Regions from separate parts of the Homo sapiens genome. Here all the other regions are linked to region 1. The links are contacts of gene promoters, found by promoter capture Hi-C in blood cells and fetal thymus (Javierre and others, 2016). All regions are on one chromosome and are shown on one strand. Each heading gives the region's core, a stretch centred on a gene start or on the middle of the fragment in contact. The rest is flanking DNA. Distances are from core to core; before and after follow the strand shown.

Region 1 (4,149 bases), core at 756-3,255:
AAAGCTGAGAGAATGAAAGGGAAGAGGATGGGCAGCTCCTCCCAAGGAAGTCACAGTCCCCAGGTTCTGCTATTTTTTTTTTTTTTTTTTTTGAGACAGAGTTTTACTCTTGTTGCCCAGGCTGGAATTACAGGCATGTGCCACCATGCCCAGCTATTTTTTTTGTATTTTTATTAGAGACGGGGTTTCTCCACGTTGATCAGGCTGGTCTCTTTTTTTTTTTTTTTTTGAGACGGAGTCTCGATCTGTCACCCAGGCTGGAGTGCAGTGGCGCGATCTCGGCTCACTGTAAGCTCCGCCTCCCGGGTTCACACATTCTCCTGCCTCAGCCTCCCGAGTAGCTGGGACTACAGGCGCCCGCCACCACATCCGGCTAATTTTTTTGTATTTTTAGTAGAGACGGGGTTTCACCATGTTAGCCAGGATGGTCTCGCTCTCCTGAGCTTGTGATCCGCCTGCCTCGGTCTCCCAAAGTGCTGGGATTACAGGCGTGAGCCACTGCGCCCAGCCTTTATTTTATTTTATTTTATTTTTGAGACAAAGTCTCACTCTGTTGCCCAGGCTGGAGTACAGTGGTGTGATCTCGGCTCACCACAACCTCCACCTCCCTGGTTCAAGTGATTCTCCTGCCTCAGCCTCCCAAGTAGCTGGAATTACAGGTGCCGGGCAACAAGCCCAGCTAATTTTTTGTGTTTTTAGTAGAGATGGCGTTTTATCATGTTGGCCAGGCTGGTCTTGAACTACTGACCTCATGATCCACCCGCCTCAGCCTCCCAAAGTGCTGGGATTACAGGCGTGAGCCACCGCACCCGGCCGTTTTTTTGTTTTTGTTTGTTTTTGTTTTTTTGTTTTTTTTGTTTTTTTTTGAGACAGGTTCTTGCTCTGTCACCCAGGCTGGAGTACAGTGGTACAATCACAGCTCACAGCAGTCTTCATCTCCTGGGCTCAGGCAATCCTCCCACCTCAGCCTCCCTAGTAGCTGGGACTGCAGCTGTGCACCACCATGCCTGGCTAATTTTTGTATTTTTTTGTAGAGACAAGGTCTCGCTACGTTACCCAAGCTGGTCTCGAACTGCTGGGCTCAAGCAATCCTCCTGCCACAGCCTCCCAAAGTCCTGGAATTACAGGCGTGAGCCACGGCACCCAGCCTTTTTTCCCCCCTCATATATAATTATTTCTCACAACCAATGTTTCTTCTTAGGGGAAATAGCCCTGAGACTGGGGCTGTACCTTACACAGCTCTGGGTGCTGATACGCACCCCATGTCAAGCGGGAAAGATACCTGGGCACATGCTCCGAGGTGTAGGGTACAAGGACCACCTTCTTCCCCAGCAGCAAGGTGTTCTGATTCAACCTCATGGTAGCAGCCTGCATGCAGATGGGGAGAGCAAAGACTTCAGGACCCTGAATTTCCTCCAACTTTGGGTAGGCGCTCCAGCTTTCCTGCTGGGGCTAAGTTGACTTCCGTCATTAGTTCCGTCTAGACACTTCAAAGAATACAGACTCCAAAATTCTTGCAAGAAAGAGAACCAGGCTGGTTAAGGATAATTAAACAATCCTTGACTCCCACTCCAAGAGGCCAAGCCTGGGCTCCGTTTCTGCCGGTTCCTTCCGTCCACTCCCCAGAACTTCGATTCCTCAAACCCAAGCACCAAGTACCAAGTACCAAAGTATCCCCAGAGCTCCCATTACTTGCCCCAGTCCAGGGATTCCAACCCAGAATCAACTTTCAGCCCTGCCTTAAACCTACTTCCAACCTCTTACCCCGGCGACCACCCCACGGGGCTCTAGCCACTCCCTCCCCGCCCCCGACCACTTCAGGGCAAGGCGGGCTTAGTCTTAGGCCCTCCCCTTTGAGTGGCGTTCTAGACCACTCTCTTCGACCCTCCAACCACGCGGACCCGGGTACTGCCAAGCTCACACCCACCTACCACCGACGAAATCGTCCCCCGCAGAAAGGGTGATCTACCTCCTCCAACCAGCCACGTTCCCAGGCCCGGCCGGCTACCGCCCCTTCCGCATGCGCGTGAGAACGCGCCCCGCCCACTTCCGCCATGCTGACGGCAGCCGCCAGGCCCCAATCCCGGTCCCGCCCCCGCGAGGCGCCCAATCAGCGCGCGCGAAAAAGGTGGGCTGTGGGGCCGGCGCATGCGCGCTGCGGAAGCTGGTGCTGGACAGCTGGCGCCGGCAGCAGCGGACCGGCGGGAGACGGCGGCTTGGGAGCTGGCTGTGCTGCAGGTGTTGGGTCGGGTCGGGTCGGGACGGGCGGGAGAGGACGAGACGGGTCGGGATAGGTTGGGGCGGGGCGGGGCGGCACTAGACTCGGGACTCCTCCAGGAGGGAGAGAGAGGGAGAGGCTGGGAGTGGGGTTCTTGAGAAAAGAGGGAGCTTTGAGGGTGGGGAACCCTAAGAGAGTAGGTGGGGCCAGGGAGTGGAGGCCCCATTAAAAAAAGGAGGCCTTAGTGCCAAGAGTGGAGTTGGAAGGGCAATGTAGGAAAGCCCCCAGCTCCCTGCCCTAGGCAGAGGCGGCAGACAGTTCCTTGGGCTCCCATGTGTGGTAGTGAGCTCCTGGTTCCTGGAACTAAACGAGGATAACCACCCCAGAGCGTGGAAAGGGGGCTCTTGTGGTGGGTGAGACTTAGTGGTTTTAGAGGCCCCTTAAATCACTTGCACCCCGAGCAGCATTGAAAACATCCGTGCTGGGCACAGAGCAGTGCCCTGCACAGCAAGGGAAATGTTAGAAGAAACCGTCCAGATTTCTGTCATCCAGGGTGACCCCTCCCTCGGGGGTGAGTCTTGTGACAGATACTGAGGCCCTAAGTGTCTGTGATAAAAGAACCAGAGGTGGCAGGGGAAGTCTGCAAGCCTCCTCCCACCCCTGTCTCAGTCCATCAGATAGGTGAAGCCTGCTCTTTTGTTTTAAGGAGCTGCGGCAGCCGCCGTCCTTGCACCTAAGGAACCTCTGCTGCCAGCCCTTCCTCACTTTTGGAAATGGCGGGTGAAATTACAGAGACCGGGGAACTCTACTCTTCCTACGTGAGTGTGACTTATAGAACCTTTTGCTCACTTAAGTGTTCCTGGCTTCTAGAAAAGCACATTGCTTGCTGGAGATGGGACTAGTGAGTGCTGCTGCTTGAGCAGACCATAGTGGAAGCAGGATGGGGGAGTTCCATGGGGCAGCGACTACAGTGCTGCTGTGGTGGCTCAGAATGTAAGTCAGATTTATTCTCTTTTTAAGGTGTTTGTCAGAGTGGTCAAGCCAAACAAAATCGCCATGCTGTTTATAATGTTAATCCCGGGCTGGGCACGGTGGCTCACGCCTGTAATCCCAGCACTTTGGGAGGCTGAAGCGGGCAGATCACCTGAGGTCAGGAGTTCAAGACCAGCCTGGCCAACATGGTAAAACCCTGTCTCTACTAAAAATACAAAATTAGCCGGGCATGGTGGCACTGTAATCCCAGCTACTCGGGAGGCTGAGGCAGGAGAATCGCTTGAACCCGGGAGGCGGACGTTGCAGTGAGCTGAGATCGAGCCGTTGCACTCCAGCCTGGGCAAAAAGAGCGAAACTCTGTCTCAAAAATAAAGAAATAATGTTCATCTCCAGGCTACCACACTTGCCTGCAGTGCTGCCCTTCAGATGAACAGTGATTGACAGCTGTTGACTCTGGGTTTTGCTCATCTCAGCAGTTGGAAACCGCTTTGGTCTTTACTGAATTTTAAATTGCACAACTTTTATAGTCTTGGATGGCGTAAGAAGCAGCGAAAGCATACAGAGACTTCTAATTACAGTTTGGTGGACTCTGCAATTAGAACAATTAGAATGATTGATTCTCACTGTCTTAGGTCTGTGTTACCTCTGGCTGCCCCCAACACACACGCAGTTTATCTTCTCTATGTAACGTATGATTGGTCATAGTTGTTACATCACAGGGCCCTCTTGCCTGGATAAGTAGCCAGAGGGTTGGAATAATCAGATGGTTGACTCAGGTTGCTACCAACCCTCCCAGGCAAAAGCAGCACTGCCCTAAGTAGCAAGAGTTTTCTAGAACTTGACCTGCCTTCAACAGCTGCCCTGCCTTGTACATAGCTTCCTAGCCTGGGGATCTCTGGTCTGTTTCTGCTAGCTTCACAGACTAGCATTGTGGTGTG
Region 2 (4,149 bases), core at 572-3,071, 200 kb before region 1:
CCTTGTCTGGACAAACCACCGGGTGCACAGGGTTGTATTAGTCAGCTCTTTCTGGCTCACATTGCCATAGCAAAACTCCTAATCCCAGCATGCTGTAACCACAGAAGCTTGTTTCTCGCTCGTCTATACGCAAGCGGTGAGTCAGCATTGCTTGGGCACCAGGCTGCGGAGCCCAGTCCGCTAGAGGAGAGGGAAGGCACCGGGTGGCTCTCTGAGCCTCTGCTCAGAAGGCGCACATGCGGCTCCTGCTCACCGTTCATCGTCATAGGGTCAAGCCTGAAGTCAGTGGGAAGGAGAAGCACAGTCCTCTTACAGGACAAGGCGGCAAGTCACTGACCACAACCACAGAACCCACTACTGGAGGTTCCCTAACCGGGCTGGAAGGGTGCCCCGCAGCACACCGACTCCGTGCTTCTCGCTCATCCAAGGTCGGGGCAGGGAGAGGCTGCAGGGTCTGCTTAGAAACAGCCTGTGTGTGTTTCATTTTTTTAGCTAGGACCAGACAGTTTGCCAAATGCAAAGGACATGGCAATGCCACAGGGAACCCACCTTTGAAGCAGATGTACTCTGGGCCCTGGAGTCCCCCAGGAGATGACAAATTCCTTGAAGAGATGACCCACATCTGGGACATCCAGGCTTTTTCCATGTCAAGGCCAGCATCTGGAGCCGCTGTCCCTTCCCCAGCAGGCCCTTGTCCTTCTGTCTCTGAAACCTGTCCTGGAAAATGCTGTCCGCTCCAGGAGGGCAGAGCTAGGGGAGGACTGAGAATAATGAACACTGGCCATGAGGCACAGGAGGGCGGGGAGCCCGGGGCCCTGCCTGGCACTGCACCACACTGAGACCCCCACCATCGCTGCCCTTGAGGGACAGCTCTTGGGGCTTCCAGAAAGTTAAGATCTCATCAGTGAGGGGTGCGTTCTTAGGGCAAACTCGGGGCATGTGATGTGTAGGACAGTGTGAGTAGCCCACACATTTCTCTCTGCCTTTCGGGGCTGTGCTTGTCTTTCTGCTTCCTCGAAAACCGTCATCCTCCCTTCTCACTCTCCCAGGATGAGCTCAGACCACACCTCTCCTGGAAGGCATCCCTGCCTGCTCCAGGCCTTCCAGACCCCTCCCTCTGGGGTTCCTGTTACCTGCAATGCTTATTTCTGTATTTAATCTCATGTCCCTGTGCTGTCATTGTCCTGTTGCATGGCATCCATTTCCAGGTGAGGCTGTAGCCTCCACAAAGGCAGGACCAATCTGGGCACCCGGAGACGCAGACAGAGCTCGGCCCCAGCCTTGTGAGCTGAATTGGAGGGTGAGAGCTCCGATCCTTCCATATTTTCCAGGGGAGGGGATCAGGAATGTATTAAGGCATTGGGCCTCTCTTCTCTCACCTCTACTACCCGACGTCAATCCATTTGGGGAGTAGTTCTCAGTATCTTGTGCATCATGGTGAGAATGGGCAAGTGCCCAAGGATGGTGGACCCCACTGCCCACTTTCTTCCCTCCCCACTGGCACTCAAGGGAGACGTCACCAAGAGGGCAGCCTCCTGACCGGCTCTGGGCAATGGATGCCTCTTTGGGATCTTGTTACAAATACAGGGCTCTCTAGGGAGCAGGGTGTGGGGAGGGTCTTCCCAACATGGGGGCTGGGGTGCTATAGGGAGCCCGGCTCAGAGAGGGTCTCTACCTGACTCTGATGATGTGGGCCATGTAGCACAGTGAGGAAGGTTCTGGCCATAAGCTGGGAGCCCTGGCTCAGATTTTAAGGTCTGCTGTTCACTAGTTATATGACTTTAGGCAAATCAGCAAAAGTCTCTTAGCATCAGTCTCCTCATCTGTGAAATAGGAATAAAAATATTCACCCTGCTCAGTCCCAGGAGTTGAGCAAAGGCATTTGAAGGTGGTGGCATCCCTCTGGGAAACTTTCCTCTTTTGATCTTCTACGTACCATGCACTCTGTATATTTAAATCCTGCATACCCATCCCAACACCCCTGCCAGGTCACTTTTAAATAAGATGACTGGAGCTGGAAAGACGAACTAAACTGTCATGATGGGAAGTGGGGAGGTCAGGATTTGAACCCAGGTCTTCGGTGGGGTCCCACCTCTGGCTCTCATGATGCAAGGTACGGATTGCAACACTCAGGCAGGGGTGAGATGGGTTGAGAGATGGCAAGTGGAAGAGGCCTCCAAGTCTTATTTCATTCAATATCTGTTTGCAGAATAGCAGGAAGTATCTTCAGGGGAAATTAACAACACAACAAAGTCTGCTTCTGGGTGTCTGCTATGGATTGATGAGTTCCCCCAAAAATTCATATGTGGAAGCCCTAACCCGTAATGTGGTGATATTAGGAAATGAGCCTGTGGGAGGTAATTAGGGTTAGATGAGGTCATGAGGATCAGGCCTTCATTGTGGGATTAGTGCCCTTATCAGAAGAAGAAGAGAGATCTCACTTTCTTTCTTAGTCCATTTAGGCTGCTATTTTAAAATACCATAGACTGGGTGGGTTATGAACAACAGAAATGCATTACTCACAGTTGTGGAGGCTGGAAAGTCCAAGATCAAAGTGCTAGCAGATTCAGTGTCTGTTGCGCACTCACCTTCTGGTTCATAAAGAGTACTTTTTTTTGCTGTGTCTTCACATGGTGGAAGGGGCAAGACAGCTCTCTGGGGTCTCTTTTACAAGGGTACTAATCCTGTTCATAAGGGTTACACCCCCACAACTGAATTATCCCCAAGGATCCACCTCCTAATACCAACACACTGGGAATAAGTTTCAACACATGAATTCTGGAGAAACACAAACACTCAGACCATAGCACTCTCTCTGCCATACGAGGATACAGAAAGATGGCAGCCATCTGCAAGTCAAGAAGAGAGTCCTCACCAAACACCAAATCTACCAACATCTTGATCTTGACTTCCCAGCCTTCAGAACTATAATAAATAAAGGTCCCTTGTTTATAAACCACTCGGTTTATGGTATTTTGTTACAGCAGCCTGAGCTGACTGAGACAACGTCCTGGTGTCTGTCCCAATGCTTCACCGTTCTGGCTTTTCAGCATGAGTCACCTGTGCTCCTTCTCCCTGGAGGAGCCCTGTCTGGGGCAAGACCTTTGCAGAAACAGTGAGGCTTCTTGTCACTTTCCTCATTTGGAAATCAGGGATTTGGATGACAACTGGATTCCACCAACTGAGGTGTCTCTGAGGCCATTTGAAAGGCCCAGTTAGACAGAGGTTATCTTCCACAGCTCTTAGCCACTGCTGTTGGCAAACAAGGATTAGAAGAAACAGGAGACTTTCATGAAGCAGAGTTCCAGGATATGTTTTCTAGCTTCCTGGGTGACAAGAAGCAGTGAGGGCAGTGACAACTTCTTCATCTGACTTCCATTAGGAAGATTCCTTGGATTGCAGCTTCATAAAATTATTCTCTAGCTTCCTGGATGTGGAAGGCAGTTGCTTGGCAGATACCAAGACTTCATGCTCCCTGTTTGACCCTAGGGGCCTCAAAAGCAGGCTGTTCTGGATGTGAGGGAGGAGGGAGGGACAAGCTTAGGAGCTGCTTCTTCGGCCCTTTCCACAATATTATAAGCACCTAATTCTCTGCATACCTTCTAGTGCCCACCTAGAATGGGCACTAGACCTGAGTGGATACATACTCTTGGAAGGATCCAATCCCAGCAATAAGGTTGTTATTAACTAAGATAAAGGAAACCCACATTATACAGCTCCTCCTGTCTCTGGGTCAAGGGAGAGCGGGCAGGCAGGAGAGTCATCTTAGAACCGCATGCCATGTGTTCTCATTCCATCCAGCAGGTGACTTGTGCCAGGCACTGCTATCTACACTGGTGAACAAGACTGAGGCCCTGCAGGGTCCTGATGGGTACTAGAGGCTCTGGTTCCAATATGAGGAGGATGAACACTTCAGCACAGTTGTCTTTTTAGTAGACGGACCAGGAAATCAGAGGAGCTCTCTGTTACTCCATAAGGGCTGTGGTTCTCAGTAATAACTAATGGCTGTTGTTCTCAATAATAACTAATGGCTGTGGTTCTCAATAATAACTAATGGCTGTGGTTCTCAGTAATAACTAATGGCTGTGGTTCTCAGTAATAACTAATGGCTGTGGTTCTCAGTAATAACTAATGGCTGTGGTTCTCAGT
Region 3 (4,149 bases), core at 943-3,442, 130 kb before region 1:
TACAAAGCTCTCTGGAGTCTCTTTTATGAGGGCACTCATCCCATTTATGAGGGCTCCAGTTTCAAGACCTAATCGCTTCCCAAACCCCCAATACCATCAGCTTCATGGTCAGGATTTCAACATATGAATCTTTGGTGGGGGAAGAAGGGGGACACAAACTTTCAGTCCATCATCCCTGGAACAGGCAGATAATGCCAGCATTTTCTTCATCAGTGTCATGGACTTGGCGTTATGCAAGAGCAGTGTCGATCAGGAACGGGAAACAAGAAGGTTTTTGTGGTTATGACCGAAACCATCTGCTCACATCAGCCCATTTGTGGCTTTTATTTCTTTTTTTAATACTCAATTTGAGCAGAGAGCAGGCTGAGAAAGGAGTGCTGGCATCAGGAGCTGGCAGCGTTAGAAGCACCTATGCAGAGGGACAAAAGCCCCAAAGTGAGCGACTGCTGGGCTTCGAGCCCCAGTGCCCCCCACCTCACCACGCCCATGACTCCTGCATCTTCCTCCGAGACCCACCCTGCACAGCTGACTCACTTGCCTTCGTCTGTGCAAATAACTTCCCCATGGGTCTCCTTTTTCATTTGCTTCTCTCCCCTTTATTTCAGGCTACTAAGGGATGCAACGTTGACGGTGCTAAGCAGAGCCTAGAATAGGAGAGAGGGCTCTCCAGAAAAGACCTGGAACATTAGAGATGAGCAATGCCACTGTTAGGAGCCCATGGGTCCCGCCCTAAGCCTCCGAGGCCTCTCCTTCACCTTCATATCCACACCAGACAGGGCTGGTGAGCGAATTCTGGAGGATTCAAGGCGAGAGAGAGTCCCCTGTGTTCTTAACTTCGGGGAGCTGAGGTCACAGATACACTTGAGATTGTAACAAAAGCTATACACCCATGCCCTAGGAAAACACACACATACACTGAGTTTCGCATATCCTATTAAAAGAATCTCCAGAGTCTTTCTATGTATTCCTAGCTAGGACCCCCCACCCTGGCAGGGCGCGGTGGCTCACACCTGTAATCCCAGCACTTTGGGAGGCCAAGGCGGGTGGATCACATGAGGCCAAGAGTTGGAGACCAGCCTGGTCAACATGGTGAAACCCTGTCTCTACTAAAAATACAAAAGTTAGCTGGGCATTGGTGGTGGGTACCTGTAATCCCAGCTACTTGGGAGGCTGAGGCAGGAGAATCCCTTGAACCCGAGAGGAGGAAGTTGCAGTGAGCCAAGATCGTGCCATTGCACTCCAGCCTGGGTGACAAGAGCAAAACTCCAACTCAAAAAAAAGAAAAAGAAAAAAGAAACAGATGAGAGAGATATGACTCTGATGCTAGAACAGAGGAGGAGCCTGCAGAAGGTGTGCAAGCACACATGTGCGCACGTGCACACACATACCAGCTGTCAGACACAGTCTGTGCTCTTTGGGAAGGAGGGTGGGGGTTACAGGACACTCCCATGTGACAAAACAGCAATCATCCCATGTCCCCTGGGTGCATAAAAACATCTCTCTTTGCACACCAGCACACAGCCACATCTTCCTTGCTGGGGTTCTTTGTGACCACTGTGAAAAAGCATTTGCCAGGGCTGTCTTGATGGTACACGGCGCTCCTCTCCTGACCTCAGGTGGTCCACCCACCTCAGCCTCCCAAAGCTCTGGGATTACAGGCGTGAGCCACCGCACCTGACCCAGACCCTGCATTCCTTTCCCCACTGGGCTTCTCTAATGTTCAGAACAACTCAAATCCATTTGTGCATTCTGCTGCCGCATATGGAGGCCCTGCTAAGTGTGAGTCCTACTTTGTGTTTGCAGCTGCAGACCTCATGCTGAGCAAGACTTCGCCTGGCCCTGGAGGGGCTCCCCACTACACCCTGGGTTGCCTCTGTGCCCTCTGGACTACCAGGCCTGGCTTAGTCGCTTTCCTTGGGCCTCTGTTTGTTATCAGCAGAGCCCACCCATCTGAGGCTGGAGCCTGAAACTCTAGTCATCCCTCTGATTCCCTCATCCTCTCCCCAGTGCACCCCAGCCCCACCCACCTCCCCTTCCCCAGCCACTAGGCCTGCTGTTCCTCATGCTCCCACCAGCCTCCCCCACCCCACTCCCCGGACCCAGGATGTCCAGGAGGGGCAGATGTGTCACTGTGTCTCTTTGCTCTCTCTGCCTCATCTGCCAACATTTGGGGAGCTTCTGTCAGCTGGACTGAAACTGGCTTTCATGTTTCTTACTACTCCCTTGCGTCTCTCTTTTCTACACCTCAGTTTTGTTGTTTTCCCATTGCATCAATGTTTATACGTAGAGCTGTTCAGAAAAAGCAGAAGCTGGAGACAGGAAAACTACTAATCACAACAGAAACTTTGTGGCTTTAATTCTCATAATAATTAGCATCACAGGGCACCCACCCAGTTTCTCAAGAGCCTACAACTTCCAAAAACAGACAAGTTAAGTCACATTTTTATGTATCATTGTGTCTTCAAATATACTAATCCAGCAGATTTATCTGACATCAAAACAGGGAGTTGGATGTTCAGAGGGCAAATCTTACCCAAAAATTGCTGACACAGCCCCTAACATGTTACATTATTATTAATTGGACAGTCACTTAATGAGCGTCTACTAAGTAAAGGCGCTGTGTATACAAAGAAGAAGGAGAGATCATGATTCTGTCAGGATCCTGGGAGTGGGCCAATGGCAGGCTCAGTTGGTATAACAGAATAATCTAATGCAGGGGAAATTTACAAAGAGAAGGAAAGAGTTAAGTGAAATCAACAAGAGATGGAGAAAAAACAGGACTAGCAACAGCAGTAGGGCCACGACACCTCTAACACAGGGAGAGGTGTCAGAAATAACCAGAACCCACAGGAACTGTAGGACAGGACCATGCCACAGGGGCTGTGACCTCAAAGTAGGAAAACGGACACTCCAGCCCAGCAGGGTGGCACCTGGGCAGGAGAAACTCTCACCTTCCTTTCTCCTGCTGGCACCACCCATTGCCATTCCTTGGAAAGAAAATAAATCTTGGGACCCCAAACTCACTAAGCCAAAGGAAAAAGTCAAGCAGGGAACTGGGTCATGCAAACCTACCTCCCATGTTGGTTCCTAAATGAGATGGTGACAAGGATGACAGGCTACCAACCTCCCTCACATTGTGGTCTTTAAAGCGTTTCTGTTAAATTTCCCCATGCCAATGTAAACTGATAGCTTATCTTCACAGGTGCGAGACACAGGACAGAACTCAAAGTCATTCCTCTGCCCACCTGAGACAAACGCATATCTGACTGTTTCCTCTGCCCTGTTGTTTACGTTATCTTAGGTAAAAATGCAGATTCACTGAGCCAGACAAAGGCCTGAATGGCTATTTTCCCCACCTCCCCTCTCACAAGAAAATTGTGTATTTCTCAATATCCCACCCTTTCCCTTTTAAATATTGAAGCCCCCAAAATCATCTTCAGAGAAAGGTATAGACCTGTCTCCCAGGCGCGTTTCCTTAACTTTGGCAAATAAACTTCCTAAAATGATTGAGACTTGCCTCAGTCATTTTCCTCCATTGACAACCTGAGCCCAACCAGAAGCCAGAGTGAGGTTATCTATGTTCCCCTCTCCAATAAGAATAGAAACCCCCACTCCAGAGCAGGTGCGGTGTCTGACTCATCTTCATATCCCAGCAGTAAGTACAGTGACCAGCTCACCGCGGGTGCTCAGTAAATGCATGCTGTGTGAAGAGATGAATGAGTGAATGTCCGTCCACTCAGCAACCTTGCAGCCAGGTGTGGTTGCTCATGTCTGTAATCCTAACATTTTGGGAGGCCAAGGCGAGTGGATCACTTGAGACCAGGAGTTTGAGACCAACCTGGCCAATATGGTGAAACCCTGTCTCTACTAAAAACCCAAAAATTAGCCAGGTGTGGTGGTGCGTGCCTGTAATCCCAGCTACTCAGGAGGCTTGAACCCAGGAGATGGAGGTTGCAGTGAGCCAAGATTGCGCCACTCTACTCCAACCTGGGTGACAGAGCAAGACTCTGTCTCCAAAAAAAAAGAAAAAGAAAGAAGAAAGAAAGAAAGAAAGAAAGAAAGAAAGAAAGAAAGAAAGAAAGAAGAAAGAAAGAAAGAAAGAAGAAAGAAAGAAAGAAAGATTCTTACAAACTATAAGATACTAAATTA

Evidence for each region. The method cuts DNA at HindIII sites, captures the fragments that hold promoters and counts their contacts. A CHiCAGO score of 5 or more calls a contact.
Region 2: a contact is called between a fragment that was not itself captured here and the fragment with the promoter of NAT9 in region 1, in 2 of 17 cell types (M1 macrophages and monocytes). The highest score is 6.8, in M1 macrophages.
Region 3: a contact is called between a fragment that was not itself captured here and the fragment with the promoter of NAT9 in region 1, in 5 of 17 cell types (naive B cells, monocytes, total B cells and 2 more). The highest score is 7.7, in naive B cells.

The regions. Positions count from the first base shown.
Region 1 is chr17:74,774,340-74,778,488 of GRCh38, forward strand. NAT9 (N-acetyltransferase 9) reads right to left here and starts at 2,006. Exons shown (of 7, transcript NM_015654.5): 1 at 1,928-2,006; 2 at 1,283-1,368. The coding sequence starts at 1,359. SLC38A12 (solute carrier family 38 member 12) reads left to right here and starts at 2,160. Exons shown (of 10, transcript NM_017728.4): 1 at 2,160-2,238; 2 at 2,925-3,036. The coding sequence starts at 2,992. RefSeq lists an enhancer at 1,688-1,807. The HindIII fragment of the contact is 5,812 bases long and covers 1-4,149 here.
Region 2 is chr17:74,569,582-74,573,730 of GRCh38, forward strand. No RefSeq gene overlaps it. Among named protein-coding and RNA genes, the nearest start is that of CD300H, 4.1 kb to the left of the region's middle. RefSeq lists enhancers at 1-5, 6-735. The HindIII fragment of the contact is 3,432 bases long and covers 106-3,537 here.
Region 3 is chr17:74,639,551-74,643,699 of GRCh38, forward strand. No RefSeq gene overlaps it. Among named protein-coding and RNA genes, the nearest start is that of CD300E, 18 kb to the left of the region's middle. The HindIII fragment of the contact is 7,428 bases long and covers 1-4,149 here.